3 separate regions of the Homo sapiens genome follow, and regions 1 and 3 are each linked to region 2. The links are contacts of gene promoters, found by promoter capture Hi-C in human tissues and cell types (Jung and others, 2019). All regions are on one chromosome and are shown on one strand. Each heading gives the region's core, a stretch centred on a gene start or on the middle of the fragment in contact. The rest is flanking DNA. Distances are from core to core; before and after follow the strand shown. Region 1 has its middle 580 kb from the start of POTEA. Region 2 holds the start of POMK (protein O-mannose kinase). Region 3 has its middle 320 kb from the start of POTEA.

Region 1 (2,990 bases), core at 340-2,839, 780 kb after region 2:
GAAAGGACATTTGGAAAAACGTATTATCCCAAGATAAAAACTAGAAAGAAGCTATCAGTGAAATATCATTGTGATGTGTGAACTCATCTCTCAGAGGTAAACATTTCTTTTGATTCAGCAGGTTGGAAACACACTTTTTGTAGAATCGGTGAAGGGACATTTGCAGCTTTTTGAGGCCAACGGGGAAAAAAAAGAATATCCCAAGATAAAAGGTAGAAAGAGGCTGCCTGTGTAAGTTCTTCTGATGTGTGGATTCAACTCACAGAGTTAATCCTAGCTTTTATTCCTCAGGTTGCAAACACTATTTTTCAAGAATCTGCAAAGAGACTTTTGGGAACCCTTTGAGGCTTATGAAGAAAAATCAATTATCCCAAGGTAAAAACTAGATAGAAGCTATATGTCAAACTGTTTTGTGATGTGAGGATTCATCTCACAGAGTTAAACATTTCTTTTGATTCAGCAGGTTGTAAAATCTCTTTTTGGAGAATCTGAAAAGGAACAGTTCAGAACCCATTGAGGCCTAAGGAGAAAAACTGAATATCCCCAGATAAAAACTAGAAAAAAGCTATCTGTTGAACTGCTTCTTGATATGTGCATTAATCTCACAGAGTTAAATCTTTCTTCTTCCCCAGCAGGAAAACACTTTTTTTTGGAGAATGTGTAAAGGAACATTTTGCAGCCCATTGATCACCACGGGGGAAAAATGAATATACATGAATAAATACCATAAAGAAGCAATGTGTGAAACTGCTTTGTGATGTCTGCATTCCTATCTCATAGTTAAATTTCTTAGTTGACTCAGCAGGTTGGAAACACTATTCTTGGAAAATCTGTGAAGGGACTTTTGGGAGCCCATTGAGGCTAATGGGGAAAAACAGAATATCCCCAGATAAAAACTAGAATAAAGATACCTGTGAAACTGCTTTGTGATATGTTGATTCATCTCACATAGTTAAACCTTTGTTTTAACCAGCAGGCTGGAAACTCTTTTTGTAGAATCTGCCATGGTACTTTTGGGACCCCACTGAAACCTATGGGGAAAAACTGAATATCCCCAGATAAATCTAGAAAGAAGCTTTCTGTGAAAACGCTTTGTGATGTGTAGATTCATCTCACAAAGGTAAACGTTTCTACTGATTCAGCAGGTTGAAAGCACTATTTCTGGATATCTGTGAAAAAAAAATTGTGCACCCATTGAGGCCTATGGGGAAAAACCAAATGTCCAAAGATAAAAAACAGAAAGAAGCTATTTTTGAAACTGCTTTGTGATGTGTGAATTCACTTCATGGAGCTACATTTTTCTTTTGATTCAGCAGGTTGGAAACACTCTCTTTTTAGAATCTGTGAACAAACATTTGAGGGCCCTTTGAGGTCTACAGAGAGAAAGCAAATATCCCCCAATAAAGAAAGAAGCTAGCTGTGAAACTTCTTTTTCATGTGTGGTTTTATTTCATGGAGTTAAATCTTTCTTTGATTCAGCAGGTTGGAAACACTCTTTTTGGAGAACCTGTGAAAGGACATTAGGGAGTACATTGTTGCCTATGGGGAAAAGCAGAATATCCCCAGATAGAAACTAGAAAGAAGATTTCTGTGAAACTGCTTTGTGATGTGTGGATTCATCTGACAAAGTTAAACCTTTCTTTTGATTCAGCAGGTTGAAAACACTCTTTTTGGAGGATCTGCATAGGGATATTTTGGTGCCATAGAGACCTTAGAAGAAAAACTGAATATCCCCAGATAAAAATTAGAATAAAGTTATCTGTGGAACTGCTTTGGGATATGTGGATTCATCTCACAGTGTTAAATTTTCTTTTCATTCAGTAGCTTGGAAACACCCTTTTTGTAAAATCTGTTTGGATTAGAAACAGAAAAAATAAGCATTGAAAAGGCAGGTACAGGAGACCAGAGCATCAGTGGCTTGCTCACAGCCCAGAGCTCTTGGACTCCACCCAATTTATTGTTTTACAAGCTCTCTCTTCTTAGAGCAGATGGGAGGGTTAGGAAGGGATGAGACAAAGGATTTATGAGTGAAGGAGAACTCATGAGTCTTTTGACATGATATATAGCAGTGACGAGTTCTAGCTTCTCCCTAGTTTTTATCTAGGGATATTCAGTTTTTCCAGATAGGCCTCAATGGGATTCCAAATGTCCCTTTGAGGATTCCCCAAGAAGACTGTTTACAACCTGCTGAATCTAAAGAAATGCTTAACTCTGTGAGATGAATCCACGCATCACAAAGCAATATCACTGAAAGATTATTTTTAGTTTTTATATGAGGATATTCAGTTTTTCCTCGTAGTCCTCAATGTCCCTTTGCATATTCTACAAAAAGAGTGTTTCCAACCTGCTTAATCAAAAGATAGTTTTAAGTCTGTGAGATGAATCTACACATCACAAAACAGTTTCACAAGTAGCTCTTTCTAGTTTTCATATGGGTATATTCAGTTTTTCCATATAGGCCTCAATGAGCTCCCAAATATTTCTTTGCAGGTTCTTTAAAAACAGTATTTCCAATATGCTGAATCAAAACAGAGGTTTAACTCTTTGAGAATTCACACCTCACAAAGCAGTTTCACAGATAGGTCCTTTGTAGTTTTTATCCTGGGGTTTTCACTTTATTCTCATAGGCCTCAATGGGCTCTCAAAGTCCATTCACAGATTCTCCAAAAGGAGTGTTTCCCACCTCCTGAATCAAAAGAAAAGTTTAACTCTGTGAGATGAATCCACACATCACAAAGAAGTTTCCCAGATTGCTTCTTTCCAGTTTTTATCTGGGGATATTTTGTTTTTCCTCATAGGCCTCAAAGGGCTCCCAAATGTTTCTTCATAGATTCTCCAAAAGGAGTGTCTTCAACCTCCTGGACCAAAAGAAAGGTTTAAGTCCATGAGATGAATCCATACAATACAAAACAATTTCACAGATAGCTTCCTTCTAGTTTTCATCTGGGGATATTCTGTTTTCATCTATAGGCCTCAATGGGCTCCTAAAT
Region 2 (3,109 bases), core at 466-2,965:
CACCCCCAAAAAGCCTGTGGGCACAAAATGGTGGCCACGTGGCAAAGAACTCAGCAAGGAGAGCTGCTGGTTGGTTTCTATCTTTGTTTGTTTGAGACGGAGCTTTGCTCTTTTGCCCAGGCTAGAGTGAAGTTGTTGGGGAAACCAGCCCCACACCACCCGGCGGGTACCCCGAGTCCAGCGAAGACAAAGGAATTAGAATAAGAGTTTAAAAGGCGGGTCCGGGGGACCGGAGCGTTGGAGGCTTGCTCACGGCCCCGAGCTCTCGGCCTCCACCCAATTTATTGGTGTATATTCACACTGTTGTGCAACCATCACCCCCATCCATCTCCAGGACTTTACCATCTTCTCACACTGAAACTGTGCACCCGTTAGTATTTTTCATGGCTATGTGGATGTAATATAATTTCTTTCAGAAACCCCTATTGTTATACATTCAGGTTTCTTTTTTTCTCTATTATAAATATCTTTTATCAGCAATGCTTCAGCAAGATCTCTTGTGCATACATCTTGCAGACATATTATTTCTTTTTCTTTTTTTTTTTTTTTTTTTTTGAGACGGAGTCTCGCTCTGTCACCCAGGCTGGAGTACAGTGGCGCGATCTCGGCTCACTGCAAGCTCCGCCTCCCGGGTTCACGCCATTCTCACGCCCGCCACCATGCCCGGCTAATTTTTTGTATTTTTAGTAGAGACGGGGTTTCACCGTGTTATCCAGGATGGTCTCGGTCTCCTGACCTCGTGATCCGCCCACCTCGGCCTCCCAAAGTCCTGGGATTACAGGCATGAGCCACGGCGCCCGGCCACAGACGTTATTTCTGAAGGATAAATTCCTAGAAATGGATTTGCTAGGGCACGTAGGAGGAATTCCAATTTACACTCACTTGTATGTGTGAGGAAACTTTCAGACTCTACTGTAACGACAGGAGGTATTACCGCTGTTTGTCCATGTGATAGGCAAACGTTTCTGTTAATTTTAATACTGTTTGGATAGCTAGTACCGGCTCAGTTTTTTTAACCCACACCATGTTACTGTCTTGATTCTGGACTTTCGCAGTGTGTCAGTGTAGAAGCAGCTAACGCTTCCGATGTACACAACCTAGACGTTCCATGACCCAGCTGACTTCGATGCTGCAAGCCTCCCTTTCGGTTTCCCGGAGCAAGCGCCCGAGTGCGTGTTGGGCTCCCGGCAGGGCTCCTGGCCGGCCCTCGACGGACTTCCCCGCCTTTGCCCAGTCCTGCCCCTCCGCGGAGGCTTGCCAAGGTCTTGTCTGCTGCGCTTGATGTGTGCAGCTCAGCTTTACTGCGTCTAGGCTAAGCCCCACAGTTTCTTTTACAGAGCGATTGTCCAACTTCAGGCATCTGGGTCCCCGAGTGGCGGGTCTGGGCCGGAGCTGGGAATCAGCCTTTCCAGCAAGGTCCCTGCAGATGCCGCGGGTCTGAGGACTACGCTTTGGAAGGCCTCGCAGTGCGTCTAGATCTGACAGCTGCTCTGCATGAGCCTGGCTCCAGGCTGAAGCAATAGTCGGTCAACACAAAATCGTTCTCCCAAGTTAGGGAAGCAGAAGCCAGACAGGGAGACTGGGTAGGTGCGCGCTGGTACCGCCGCGGCGTTCGCTCCGGCTTCAGTGCACGGCCGGAGGAGGACGCCAGGGGGCAGCAGCGCCACGCTCACCCGCCCAGGACGCGCTTCCGAACGCGCAAGCGCAGTAGGCCCAGTGCGTGCTGGCCCGGGGTGGCAGGAGCCGCAGAGGCTTGGGCTGCAGGTAGGTGCTGCGGCGAGGGGTGAGAGGGCGAAGGGGCGAGGGGGCGTGCAGCTGGGTTTCCCGGGGGACCCTGTACGTGGCCTGGGCCGCACCCCCCGCAGCCCCGGCCGCCTGCCCGCGGCCTGTCCGGAGGCTCCCTAGGAGGCTGCGCTGGGCCTGAGCGGCCGTGTCCACCGCGCCCAGCCCCTATCTCCGCGTCCACCCCTGCGCGGTAGCGGGACGTTAAAGAACCAGAGAAGGGCCCGGCGAGGTGGCTCCAGCCTGTAATCCCAGCGCTTTGGGAGGCCGAGGCGGGAGGATCGCGTGAGCTCAGGCGAGAGCAGCCTGGGCAACATGGCGGAACTTCTGTCTCCGTAAAAAAGCACTTAGCCGGGCGCGGTGGCGCCGCCTATAGTCTTATCTACTCCGGAGGCTGAGGCGGGAGAATGCTTGAACCCGGCGGGGGCGGAGGTTTCAGTGAGCCGAAATCGCGCCACTGCACTTCAGCCTGGGGGCCAGAGTGAGAGGCTGTTTCTATTATTATTACTTTATCATTATTATTATTATTTGAGACGGAGTCTCGCTCTGTCGCCCAGGCTGGAGTGTAGTGGCGCGGTCTTGGCTCCTGGGATTACAGGCGTCCGCCACCACGCCCGGCTAATTTTTGTATTTTTAGTAGAAACGGGGTTTCCCCATGTTGGTCAGGCTGGTCTCGAACGCCTGACCTCAGGTGATCCGCCCGCCTCTGCCTCCCAAAGTGCTGGGATTACAGGCGTGAGCTACTGGGTCCGGCAGAGGCTGTCTCTGTTTAAAAAAACAAAAACCAAACCAAACCAAAACAAAACAAAAAACAAAAAAACCAGAAAGGACCGAGGACTCTGTCTCAGCTCTTTGCCTTTGGGTGTTTATTCTGCACGAGATCATTGTTGCCAGGAGGTGTTAAGTGTAATCATATTCTCTTTTTTTTAGAAAGCAAAATTTCGCTGTTTTGTTGCATAATCTTGTCTTTGCCACCCTTTGCCTTTGCTATAGAACCTTAAGGCTAAATAAGCGTTCAGAATATTTAAAATAATCCTCTTAATGTACCTTGTGCTTTATTGGCGCAATGGAATTCTACTCTAAACTGTATTGGATGACATTACTCTGTGTCTTCCCTAGTTGTAGAAAATATCTTGTAAGTCGGTAAAAACTAGTTTTGTCCCTTTGCTTTTCTTTTCTTTTTAAGCTGTAAATGTGGAGCAGTGGGTCCCAAGCCTTTCTCTATCAATAAGCCTTCCTATCAGTGTCAGAAATGCTTTGCATTTCAGTCGTGCCTGAATTTCTTCTGCCCAACCTGCCCCACCATCTTTATTCCTTAATGTGCAGG
Region 3 (3,371 bases), core at 165-2,664, 520 kb after region 2:
AAGCTGCTTTGTGATGTATCAATCATCTACAGAGTTAAACCTTTCTTTTGATTCAGCAGGTTGGAAACACTCTTTTTGTAGAATCTGTGAAGGGACATTTGGGAGCCCTTTGAGGCCAATGGTGAAAAACTGAATATCCCCAGATAACAACTAGAAAGAAGCTGTCTGTGAAAGTGGTTTGAGATGTGTGGATTCATCTCAGATTAAAACTTTCTTTTGATTCGAATGTTTGGAAACACTCTTTTTGTAGAATCTGTGAAGGGACAATGGGGGCCCATTAAAGCTTAGGGTGAAAAAAACAATATCCCCAGAGGAAAATTAGAAAGAAGCCATCTGTGAAACTGCTTTGTGATGTGTGGCTTCATGTGACAGAGTTAAACCTTTCTTTTGATTCAGCATGTTAGAAATACTCTTTTTGTAGAATCTGTGAAGGGATATTTGGGAACCTAATGAGGACTGTGGTGAAAAACAAAATATCTCCAGATAAAAATGAGAAAGAAGCTATCAGTTAAACTGCTTTGCAACGTGTGCATTCGTCTCACATAGTTAAACCTTTCTTTTGTTTCAGTAGGTTGCAAACACTCTTTTTGTAGAATCTACAGAGGGACAATTTGGTGCCCATTGAGGCCTATGTTGAAAAACAAAATATCCTCATAAAAAACTGGTAGAAAAGTATTGGTGAAATTGCTTTGTGATGTGTCGATTCATCTCACAGAGATAAACTTTTATTTAAATTCAGCAAGTTGGAAAAACTTTTTGTAAAATCTGCAAAGGGACATTTGATAGCCCATTGAGACCTATGGTGAAAAACTGAATATCCCCAGATAACAACTAGAAAGAAGCAGTATTTGAAAGTGCTTTGTGATGTGTGGGTTTCTCTCACAGAATTAAACCTTTCTTTTCATTCCACAAGTTGGAAACACTCTTTTTTTAGAATCTATGAATGGACAACTGGGAGCCAAATAATGCTTATGGTGAAAAATTGAATATCCCCAGAGAAACAGTAGAAAAAACCTACCTGTGAAAGTGCTTTGTGATGTGTGCGTTCATCTCACAGAGATAAACCTTTCTTTTGATTCAGCAGGTTGGAAACTTTTTTTGTAGAATCTGTGAAGAATCGTTTAGGAGCCCACTGAGGCCTTTGGTGAAACACTGAATAACCCCACATAAAAACTACAAAGAAGCTATCTGTGAAACTGCTTTGTGATGTATAGATTCATCTCACAGAGTTAAACCTTTCTTTTGATTCAACAGGTTGGAAACACACTTTTTATAGAATCTGCAAAAAGACATTAGGGATCCCATTGAATTCTATGATGAAAAACTGAATATGCCCAGATAGAAACTAGAAAGATGCTATCTGTGAAACTGCTTTGTGATGTGTGAATTCATCTCCTTGAGTTAAATCTTTCTTTTGATTTAGCAGGTTTGAAACATTCTTTTGTAGAATCTGCATAGGAACACTGGGGAGCCCATTGAGACCAATGGTGAGTAACAGAAAAAAAACTAGAAAGAAGCTGTCAGTGAAACTGCTTTGTGATGTGTAAATTCATATCAAAGAGTTAAACCTTGCTTTTAATTCAGAAGGTTGGAAACACTCTTTTTATAGTGGTGATGTGTGGATTCACCACAGAAAAATAAACCTTTCTTTTTATTCAGCAGGTTGGACACAATCTATTTGTAGAATATGCAAATTTACATTTAGGAGCCCATTGAGGCCTATGGTGAAAAACCAAACATCCCCAGATAAAAACTAGTAAGAAGTTATCTGTGAAACTGCTTTGTGATGTGTGCATTCATCTCACAGAGTTAAACCTTTCTGTTGATTCAGCAGGTTGGAAACACTATTTTTGTAGAATCTGCAAATTGACATTTAAGAGCCCACTGAGGCCTATGGTGAAAAACCGAATGTTCCCAGAAAAAAACTAGAAAGAATCTGTGAAACTGCATTTTGATTTGCACATTCATCTCACCAAGTTAACATATGCTTTGATTCAGCAGGTTGGAAACACTGTTTTTGTTGAATCTGCGAAGGGACATTTGGAAGCCCATTGAGGTGTATGGTGAAAAATCGAATATTGCCAGATAAAAGCATTCTTTTTGTACAATTTGTGAGGGGTCATTTGGGAGCACATTGAGGCCTGTAATGAAAAACCAAATATCCCCACATAAAAACCAGAAAGAAGCTATTTGTGAAACTGTGCTCTAATGGGTGGATTCATCTCACAGAGTTAAACATTTCTATTGATTCAGTGGCTTGGAAACACTTTTTTCATAGAATCTACAAAGGAGCATTTGAAAGCCCTTTGTTGCATGTTTTTTAAAAATGGAATGTCTCTATTTAAAAAGTAGAAACAAGCTATCTGAGAAACTGCTTTGTGATGTGTGGATTCAACTGACAGAGTTAAACATTTCTTTTGATTCAGCAGGTTGGAAGCACTCTGTAGAAACATTTGGGAGCACACTGAGACCTGTGGTGAAAATCTGATTATCCCCAGATAAAAATTAGAAAGAAGCTATCTGTGGAAATGCTTTGTGATGTTTGGATTCACCTCACACAGTTAAACCTCTCTTTTAATTCAGTGGGTTGGTAAAAATCTTTTGGTACAATCTGCAAATTGACATTTACAAGCCTATTGAGGCCTATGGTGAAAAAAGAATATCTCAAATAAAAACTAGAAGGAAGGTATCTGTGTCACTGCTTTGTGATGTGTGGGTTCATCTCACAGAGTTAAACATTTCCTTTGATTCAGCAGTTGGAAACACTCTATTTGTAGAATCTGTGAAGGGACATTTGGGAACCCATTGAGACCTATGGTGGAAAAGTGAATATCCCCGGATAAAAACTAGAAGGAATCTATCTGTGAAACTGCTTTGTGATGTCTGGATTCACCTCACAGATTTAAACTTTTATTTTGATTCAGCAGGTTGGAAACACTTTAGATGTAGGATGTGTGAAGAGATATTTGGGAGCCCATGGAGGCCTATGGTGAAAAATAGAATATTCCCAGAAAAATCCTAAAAAGAATCTCTTTGTGATACTGTTTGTGATGTGTGCAATCATCTCACTTAGGTAAACTGTTCTCTTGATTCAGCAGATTAGAAACACTCTTTGTAGAATCTGTTAATGGACATTTGGGAGCCCATTGAGGCTTATGGTGAAAACTGAATATCCCCATATAAAAACTAGAAAGAAGTTATCTGTGAACAGTTTTGTGATGTGTGGATTCATCTCACATAGTTATACCTTTCTTTTGATTCAGCAGGTTGGAAACACTCTTTTTGTGGAATCTTTGGTTGGATATTTGGGAGTCCTTTGAGGCATAGGATGAAAAACTGAATATCTACAGATAAAAACTAGGAAGAAGCTA

Evidence for each region. The method cuts DNA at HindIII sites, captures the fragments that hold promoters and counts their contacts. A contact is called where the count stands out against the background at its distance.
Region 1: a contact is called between a fragment that was not itself captured here and the fragment with the promoter of POMK in region 2, in 2 of the 25 tissues and cell types used here (mesendoderm cells and thymus).
Region 3: a contact is called between a fragment that was not itself captured here and the fragment with the promoter of POMK in region 2, in 2 of the 25 tissues and cell types used here (mesendoderm cells and thymus).

The regions. Positions count from the first base shown.
Region 1 is chr8:43,873,436-43,876,425 of GRCh38, forward strand. No RefSeq gene overlaps it. Among named protein-coding and RNA genes, the nearest start is that of POTEA, 580 kb to the left of the region's middle. The HindIII fragment of the contact is 6,113 bases long and covers 1-2,990 here.
Region 2 is chr8:43,091,800-43,094,908 of GRCh38, forward strand. POMK (protein O-mannose kinase) reads left to right here and starts at 1,716. Exons shown (of 5, transcript NM_032237.5): 1 at 1,716-1,764. RefSeq lists enhancers at 680-1,586, 1,587-2,492 and a silencer at 1,744-1,953. The HindIII fragment of the contact is 5,704 bases long and covers 1-3,109 here.
Region 3 is chr8:43,612,574-43,615,944 of GRCh38, forward strand. No RefSeq gene overlaps it. Among named protein-coding and RNA genes, the nearest start is that of POTEA, 320 kb to the left of the region's middle. The HindIII fragment of the contact is 4,516 bases long and covers 1-3,371 here.